Regions from separate parts of the Homo sapiens genome. Here regions 1 and 2 are each linked to region 3. Evidence: promoter capture Hi-C in 16 types of primary human blood cells and fetal thymus (Javierre and others, 2016). All regions are on one chromosome and are shown on one strand. Each heading gives the region's core, a stretch centred on a gene start or on the middle of the fragment in contact. The rest is flanking DNA. Distances are from core to core; before and after follow the strand shown. Region 1 holds the start of PHKA2 (phosphorylase kinase regulatory subunit alpha 2). Region 2 holds the start of PDHA1 (pyruvate dehydrogenase E1 subunit alpha 1). Region 3 holds the start of REPS2 (RALBP1 associated Eps domain containing 2).

What was found. Contacts are between HindIII fragments. The CHiCAGO score rates a contact against its expected background, and 5 or more counts as called.
Region 1: the fragment with the promoter of PHKA2 here is called in contact with the fragment with the promoter of REPS2 in region 3 in 1 of 17 cell types (activated CD4 T cells); the score reaches 7.7 in activated CD4 T cells.
Region 2: a contact is called between the fragment with the promoter of PDHA1 here and the fragment with the promoter of REPS2 in region 3, in 3 of 17 cell types (total B cells, non-activated CD4 T cells and fetal thymus). The highest score is 11.1, in total B cells.

What each region holds. Positions count from the first base shown.
Region 1 is chrX:18,982,589-18,985,406 of GRCh38, forward strand. PHKA2 (phosphorylase kinase regulatory subunit alpha 2) reads right to left here and starts at 1,526. Exons shown (of 33, transcript NM_000292.3): 1 at 1,267-1,526. The coding sequence starts at 1,344. RefSeq lists enhancers at 1,328-1,828, 1,829-2,329, 2,311-2,360 and a silencer at 1,521-2,210. The HindIII fragment of the contact is 8,902 bases long and covers 1-2,818 here.
Region 2 is chrX:19,342,329-19,345,350 of GRCh38, forward strand. PDHA1 (pyruvate dehydrogenase E1 subunit alpha 1) reads left to right here and starts at 1,599. Exons shown (of 11, transcript NM_000284.4): 1 at 1,599-1,766. The coding sequence starts at 1,710. The HindIII fragment of the contact is 3,035 bases long and covers 550-3,022 here.
Region 3 is chrX:16,945,185-16,948,044 of GRCh38, forward strand. REPS2 (RALBP1 associated Eps domain containing 2) reads left to right here and starts at 1,474. Exons shown (of 18, transcript NM_004726.3): 1 at 1,474-1,950. The coding sequence starts at 1,678. The HindIII fragment of the contact is 5,688 bases long and covers 1-2,860 here.

The DNA of each region.
Region 1 (2,818 bases), core at 276-2,775, 2.0 Mb after region 3:
TTTGGGAGGCCGTGGTGAGAGGATGACTTGAAGTCAGGAGGTCGAGACCAGCCTGGCCAACGCAGTGAAACCCCGTCACTACTAAAAATGCAAAAATTAGCTGGGTGTGGTGGCGCACGCCTGTAGTCCCAGCTACTCGGGAGGCTGAGGCAGGATAATCGCTTGAACCCGAGAGGCAGAGGTTTCAGTGAGCCGAGATCGCGCCACTGCACTCCAGCCTAGGAGACAGAGTGAGACCCTGTCTCAAAAACAAACAAACAACAACAAAGAAAACAGATTAAGGGACTTTGGACCTATACCTTATGCATAAATGTTACTGCACTACGATCATTTATTCTTGTAACCCCAGCACTTTGTAGAGTGCTTTGCATATAACAGATACACCACAAATATTTCCTAAGTGAGGAAACAAGGCTAAGAAATTAGTTAAGAAGGGAAAATGGTCAGTGCCTTGGAAATGACCATGGCTCCCAACTTGCAGGTCAGGCCTCTAACCCCTGAATGCCACTTCCTTCGTTGACTTTGAAGGCCCTATAAATAGTTGCTGTTGATTGAGGGCAAGAAACATAGCTGCTGTCTTCACTAGGAATAAAAATAGTTCAGTGGTCTTACACTGATGGACCCACACATAATTTTAGCCCAGGAATACAAAGCATAGCAGGCAAATTCATACCTCGGACCACATGGGCAGTGTCATAGGACCCTGTGAGCTTGGGAGCCTTTGGGTCTGACCTGCTACATGCAGTGACCTTTCTAGCCTCACAATTTTCTTATCTGTAAAATAGCAACCAAAGTAGCCCCTAAGGGCTTCCCAGGTGGGTCTCTACCAAGACAGCTCATGGGAGGGACGGTAGCTGTCGCCCCACACTGCAGAGTCCTGCGTAAACTTCAGGAGCTTCTTCACTCCTGTCTACTGTTCTCATTCAGTGTAGTCTGTCCAAACCCCCCACACCTCTTCTCGTCCAAAAAAAGCAGAGTCAATGCAAAAAGAGGCAGTTTGGACCCGGGCACGGAGGCGGCTCATTCTCATCCTGAACAATGGCCAAAGAATTCTGTGAAAAGTAGCCGTAGCAACAGTTAGGTCCCCTGAATCTTAAGGAGCACGGGGTGGCAATGGGGTGGTAATCACTGGCTAGCAAGGACTAGATTCAAATAGCAAACTCTTAATTGCAAGGTCTCAGGTCACAAGAGGGCCAGACCTGGGAAGGAGAATGAGTTACATGAGAGGGTAGTTCCACGCGTTCCCTGGGGGCGGTCCCTCCTTACCTGGTAACACAGGATGGTTTGCTGCACCAGCCGCGCGTACCCGTCCAAGCGGACCCCGGAATTGCTCCTGCTCCGCATCTCCCCGAGGCTCCCAGGCCGCAGCGCCCGATCTGCCGCGTGGGCGCGGGACGTCGGGGCTGTGGCCTCCAAGCGGGTCTGGTTCCCGGACACTCACAGCCTTAGTCGGTTCTTGGGATGGGACCGGGCCGGAGGAGGTCGAGACTTTTCTAAACGCTAGCCCCAAAGTCCGGTTGGAAAGCAAGCCAACCAGAGCTCCGCGCGGCGGGGAGGCGCGGGGGCGGGGACGGGGGCTGGAGCGACGAAGGTCCCGCCTCGGCCAGGCCTGCTGGGCTCCCGACGCTCGCGGGAGCAGCGGGAAACCAGGTTCCGGGAGTGGGGCGAGGACGCCCCTGCCAAGCCCCTTTTACGTCCCGGCGGTCGCGAGGAGGTCCCCCGGGCGCGAAGAAGACGCCAGCCCACCCCAGCCGCCGGGGAGATCGCCCAGGCCGCGCTCAGCCCCGCCCCTGGCTCTGCCCCCGCCGCGGAGCGGAACCCTCCAAGTCGCGGCCTGAGGAGGAAGGAAAAGGGGGCGGCCCGGGAGAGCCGCTGCGAAATCAGCAACGGGCGGGAACCAGGTTGCCTCCCTGAGTCCCTTCTCTCCCCGGCCGGCTGCCAACCACAGCCAAGGCCAGAGAAACAGGCCCTTCTGCCGCGGCCACCTGGGCGCCTTGGACCCGCCCTCCGGACTCGCCCCCGCCCCTGCCGCGGAGTGGAACGTTTGGAACCCTGAGGGGCACAGGTAAGGGGGCGGCCCCGCCCCGCGCCCTGGAACGACCTCACGGCCCCGCCCACATCCCCGCCCCTGGCCCCACCTCCGCCGCAGAGCGGAACCCTCAGAGTCGCGGCCTCGGGGGGGACGAAAAAGGAGGCGGCCCGTGGGAGTCTAGGGGAACCCGGCTTCGGGCGGCGGACGAGTTGGCTTTCCTGCGTGGTAGTGTGGAGCCCCCCGAGACGGGTGCCAGTCCCACTCGAGGCCGGAGAAAGAGGGCCGCCTACCGCGGCCGCCTGGGCACCCCTCTGAGGGCCAAGATTGTAGTCCCACCTCTGGCCCCGTCTCCGCCGCCTAGCGGAACTGGAGTAGCGGGACCCAGCCCGGAAGAAAAAGGGGGAAGGCCCGGAGAGGTGCCCCAGCGACACCTCTGGCGCCTGTGACCCCGCCCCTAGCCACTTGGGCGCCGCTTCCTCGGGCAGGTTCGCAGTTCATCTCCCACGGGTCTACAGCTTGAAACTTGGCATTCATTATAATGTTTCGTGGCTGCTGATAACCTACAGTTCACAATCTTCGGCCTGGTATTCATTGTCCACCAAAATCTGGCCCACATAGGAATTTACTGGACAGCTAGACTAATGCAATCAATTTCCGCAAGCTCTTTTCCAGTCTCCATGCATTTACTCTATGCTTGACCCCTTCGGCCCTTCTTCCTCCTCCTTGACTAACTGAAGCCTATCTTTCCCTTAACGGCCAGCTCAGCTCCTCTATTAGCCTTCCCCA
Region 2 (3,022 bases), core at 349-2,848, 2.4 Mb after region 3:
ACCTTTTCATTCTCTTTTACCTTTCATATTCTATCAGCAGCAGCAGCTGCTGAAATCATACCATGCAAGTTTCTCACGTCCATCTCTGCCTTTTAATGGCGCCCTCTCACTCCTTTAAGAAGTTTTCTTCCACTGCAACACGATCTCTCAGTCCAGAGTCTGGCCCAGTGCCCAAATTATTTCTCTAGCTATGCTGAGAGCTGGTCATGCTTTGAACTTCTGCTTTGAATACTTTCAGTGACACTGGGAGAGAATTATCTCATTGGACCATTGTCATTGTTAGAAAATTCATTGTTATGCTGAAATGAAATGATTTTATTCACACACACACACACACACACACAAAATAGCTCTTCCTCCTGGAACATGACTGGCCTGAAAATGTGTGAAGACATATCCAATCCTCTCTGGTTTTACTGTTCATCCAATTTTCTGTTCTCCTCCTGGCAGGAGGATTATATTTCACCTTGTGGAACTCAGACATGGTCGGGTAACTAGCTCTGGTCCGTGAAAATTGAGAGGAAGTGACATGTGTCACTTCTGGGCAGAAGCTTTGAGAGCCGGTTTAAATGATCCCTTTTCTCTTCATCCATGAGACAAGCTAAGTTCCAGAGAGAGGGTGCCACGCTGTGAGGGACCTGTGTTACGAGTACGATGGCTCGCGTCACTTCAAATTCTTGAAATCACTGAAATTTGGAGGTCAGTTGTTACATCATAACCCAGCCAATTCTAGTTAGCCTGTTTTCTTCCTAACTTCTTTAATCGTTCTTCATAAGTCACAATCGCAGCCCCTCACCGTTCTGACCACTGTCCCCTGGATTCCACTCAGTTTACTCATTATCCCCCTTAAAATGTGGAGCCCAAATCTGAACCCGGAACCCCAGGTGCAATCCCACTAGGACACAACACAATGGGTTCCTGAGCCCTTTGATCCTCTGAATAGAGCCCCTTGTTGCTTTGGTGTTTTGTCTCTGTGTGTGCTTTTATCATCGGCTGAGCCACGCTGTTAACTCGCAGTGAGCCTGTGAACCAATAACTAGAGAAAAAAGATTTTTCCCATTGTCCTCTCGACATATATTGGGAAACAAATTTTTTGATCCGCGTTCAAGTAGACAGGGCAGAACTGTCCAACTGCTACGTGATCTTTTAAAGACAAAGTTAGTGGCAGACCATTTACAGAAACCAGATGTTCTGTCTTTTGGCTCTGAGCATGCTGCTAATCTTCATCATCTAGTGTACTGAACGAGATGTACTGAACGAGGGCTGCAGAGCTGCAGCACCGGCAGGAGTAGGCGCTCGGTAGGACGGGGCCTGCACAACCTCCCCGGTAGTCAGCAGAGCGGAATCTAGGAAGGCTCCTTTCCCGCGGCGCCCTGGAGGCGGGGGCCCCACCTTCCCACGCAGGCGCTATCAAGCCCCGCCTCCTCACCCGCCCGCGGCGTGGCGTCGGAAAGAGCCCTCAGCCCCTCCCTCTCTGGCGCTGATACCCAATGGGCAGCCTCAGGCCTTTAGCGGGGGCGGGGCACCCCCTGGACGCCGTTCTGGTTGGCCCGCGGCCCGGCGCAGCGCATGACGTTATTACGACTCTGTCACGCCGCGGTGCGACTGAGGCGTGGCGTCTGCTGGGGCACCTGAAGGAGACTTGGGGGCACCCGCGTCGTGCCTCCTGGGTTGTGAGGAGTCGCCGCTGCCGCCACTGCCTGTGCTTCATGAGGAAGATGCTCGCCGCCGTCTCCCGCGTGCTGTCTGGCGCTTCTCAGAAGCCGGTGAGACCTCCCGGGCGGGCCGGGATGGGGCGCGAGTGGGGCTGAGGCGGGGCCGGAGGGCAGGGCGGGCCAGGCCGGGCCACCCAGAGCGGGGTGGAAGGCGCCAGGGGAGCCGGGGAGCCTTTACTTCGCCTCCGCGCCCTGCATTCCGTTCCTGGCCTCGGGAGAAGCGGCACGGACCGGGATCACGCCAAGGTCCGTGTGAACTTCCCCCTTCTCGACACCCACCTCCCGCCCCCGGGCCCAGCTGTGCGCCAGGCGAAGTCGGTGTGCTCAAGAGGTGCCTGTTGGGTTACAGGACACGGAAAGGGTGGCCTCGGCCTCCTTCGAGTCTCCAATTGACCCCACTCATTTCGGATCTTCTAACTTAATTTCTCTTGACCGAGAGGCTTTGTAATAGCGTAGAATCTGGAGACAGGGTGGCTTCGTTCAAACAGCACCCTCACCATTGACTAGCCCTGTGACCTTGAGCAAGTTTTTAAACGTCCCGGGGACCCGGTTTCCTAAAATGTTTGCTCGAAGTGGAGTTAATCTCTAAATGGAGATAAGAGTTATCTCTGAAATGTTATCAGTTAACTCTAAAATGGAGATAATAAGAGTCCCCACCTCTTGGGGTTGTCTTGAGGATTCAACGAGTGACACGTGTGGAAACGATTCCAAATAGCACCTGGCACATAATCGATAACATGTGTGTTGAATAGTGTTATTTATTGAGTCTCCAGTTCGGTATACATTTCTTGAACACCTGTGCTCAGTTCTGAGGCGGGTTCACAGAAGGTCAGCCTCTTCAGAAACAAACTTCCTCCTCTTCCCTCTCCCTCAACATCTGAGCTTTTCTTGGCAGTGAGTTCAGGAGCGCCGAAGCAGAACTCAGAGGACGCTGCCCTCCCCTCCCCTTACCTACACATTCTTAGGGTACAAGTAGCTAAAGCAAAGAGCAACGATGCTTGAGGGGTGGGGGGTAGAGTTTAGCACTATTTCATGGCCTCAGCATTTAGAGGTGCCTAACACCTGAGCTAGCATTCTGACCCCCCTAGGCACAGTGAGGTCGTGTTAATTGGTGTAACTGCAGGCCTCGGGATTCTGGTATTTCCCCCAGGACTTGATACCGCTCTACTTAGTACAGGCAGAGATTGTCAAAAGGTAAGAGGTATGCCCCTCTAGGAATCCTGTTGCCTAAAATAATGACAAAACTGCCGGGTGCGGTGGCTCAGGCCTGTAATCCCAGCATTTTGGGAGGCTGAGGCAGGTGGATC
Region 3 (2,860 bases), core at 224-2,723:
ACTGCAGGCACTCACCACCATGGCCCAGCTAGTTTTTGTATTTTTAGTAGAGATGGGATTTCACCACGTTGGCCAGGCTGGTCTCGAACTCCAGGACTCAAGTGATCTGCCTGCCTTGGCCTCCCAAAGTGCTGGGATTACAGGCATGACCCACCGCGCCCGGCCTGGACTTTCTTTTAAAAGCGGCTAGAGGGCCAGGCGTGGTGGCTCAAGCCTGTAATCCCAGCACTTTGGGAGGCCGAGGTGGGGGGGTGGGGGTGGGGTGGATCACCTGAGGTCAGGAGTTCGAGACCAGCCTGACAAACATGGTGAAACCCCGTCTCTACTAAAAATACAAAAATTAGCCAGGAGTGGTGGCAGGCGCCTGTAATTCCAGCTACTCGGGAGGCTGAGGCAGGATAATCGCTCGAACCCGGGAGGTGGAGGTTGCAGTGAGCCAAGACTGTGCCATTGAACTACAGCCTGGGCAACAAGAGCGAAACTCCTTCTCAAAAAAAAAAAAAAAAAAAAAAAGTGGTTAGAGTACTAGCCAGGGGGAAGCAAGCACATTTGAAAAATATAGTGTGTATGCTTTAGGATAGGGAGGAATGGAGAGAGAGAGGAGGACATGGACCGGGGTGGAAAAATGTGGGGTTTCGCATTGATTTTTGGTGTGAGCTTGAACAAGTTTTGTACTAAAAAAAATGCCTGTTTTACTACTAAAATAAGTGCTTCCTTTGGAGAGTGAGGATCCTCTGTTACTGAGGTTTGTATTTTCAGGCCCTAGCATATAAATCTGCTACATACGAGATATTCAACTGGTTTTGGAGGAATGAAGGTGAACATGGCAGTTTCCTCATCTGTAAAAGCAGGGTTTGGACGAAATGATCTGCAAAATGGGTCTTTTTGTACTCTTACTACTCTAGTATTTACGAGTAACCGATGTTATTCCTTATAAAGTCTCAACTCCTGGTTTGAGCCATGTCTGACGAGGGGGCCTAACTCCAATACCACCCTGAACACTCTGGGGTCAGTGGGACCCTGTTTGTACAGACGTCTGCGTCTTCCGGCTCTTTAGGACATAAGCAGTACTGCTATGGAAGAAAGGAAACCTAATTTCCCATGCCTTGTCCCTTTCTGGAAAGGGCATGGCGTGGTGTGGGCACCACACCTGCCCCAGCCTTCTAGCAAGAAAACAACACAACCTTCCCCGCTCCCCGAAAAGAGCTTCTCTCCAGTTGGGTCTAGATGCCCCCTTCCCAACCAGGGCGGATGGCCAAAGGCTCCGCTCCCTTGCAGGGTAGGCTTGGAAAGGCACGGGGCCCGCCTTCCTGGGCACCGGAGCCTGTGACGGGCGGAGGGCGTGCGGCGCGCTGGGTTAGTTACCTGGCGCTGGGCGGGGCAAGCGGGAGGCGGGGGCGGGGCCGGGGTGACATCTCAGGCTGTGATTGGGCCGCGCCGCGCCTGTCTCCATGTGCCGCGCAGCTGAGGCACAACATTCAAGCCCGGGGGTGGGGCCGGCGCGCGCCGGGAGGAAGCGGCCGCGCGGCAGCTGCGGGGCGTGGGGGTGGTGGTGGCGGCGGCGGTGGTGGCGGCGGCGGCGGCGGCGGCAGCTGAGGCCGAGGAGGCGGTGGCTGTGGCGGACGCAGCAGCACCCCAGCTAGGGACAGGGCTCCGCCGCGCCCCCTTGCTGGCCCCATGGAGGCGGCAGCGGCGGCGGCGGCGGCGGCAGCGGCAGCGGCAGCGGCGGGCGGGGGCTGTGGCTCCGGGCCGCCGCCGCTGCTGCTGAGCGAGGGCGAGCAGCAGTGCTACTCCGAGCTCTTCGCGCGCTGTGCCGGCGCCGCGGGCGGGGGCCCCGGGTCTGGGCCCCCCGAGGCCGCCAGAGTCGCCCCCGGCACGGCCACTGCGGCCGCCGGCCCCGTGGCTGACCTGTTTCGGGCATCGCAGCTGCCCGCCGAGACGCTGCACCAGGTGGGTCCCTCCGCCTCCTGTCCCTGCGGGTCTGTGGGGCAGTGTGTGCGGGGGCGGAGGTTGCGAGTGGGGCGACAGGGCTGCCCCCAGGGACCCGGAGGCCTCGGCCAGTTCTGAGAGAGAGGACTCTGCAGCCGGGGATGGCGGCGACGCCCTTGTCCCCGGGGGACACCAGCCTCCTTCGCAGCTCAGCTCCTCGCCCAGTGCTGGGTGCGCTCTCCCCATCTTCCTTCCCTGAGACAGTCTGACACTCTCTCCCCTCCCCCGGCCATTTCTGGGGTTCTGCAGCCGCCCAGACCCAAAGTTTGTCCTGTTCTGGAAGTGGTGTTTGTTTTGGCTGCTGCCTGGTTTAACCTCTGCTCGCTGCTCCTGCCCCTCCCTCTCCTGAGTGGGTTCTCAGGGTGCCTTGCTGGGATTTCAACTTGAAGGGTGTGTGTGTCCGTAGGGTTCGAGGCCCAGGGCTGAATGTTGTCCTCTCTATGTAGTTGTAATATATAAGTATCTACTATATGTAATTGCCCATAACATATTTCTAAATATTAATATTAAATCGAAAACCTTAATGACAAGTTGCAGAACAGGGACACGGGACTGCAAGAGGACGTTTGTCAAGTCAAAACCAAATTTCCCATTTGAGATTAGAGGTGGACTTCAGAAGTCCACCATGGGAAACAGCTGTAGTTTCCCATCTATCATTACTTGGACTTGAAATAGAATTGAAAGGTAAGGGATGTCATAGCTACCACCTTTTGGCTGTTCTATACTTGGAAAAGTACTAGGGGATGATACATACCAGACGCTGTTTTTGTTTTGTGCTTTCCTTGGAGCTTGGAGAAAGACTACTTGATAAGCCTTTGTCTGTCATTTCATGTCACCAGCACTTCATGGTGATAAGACTGTTAATATCAGG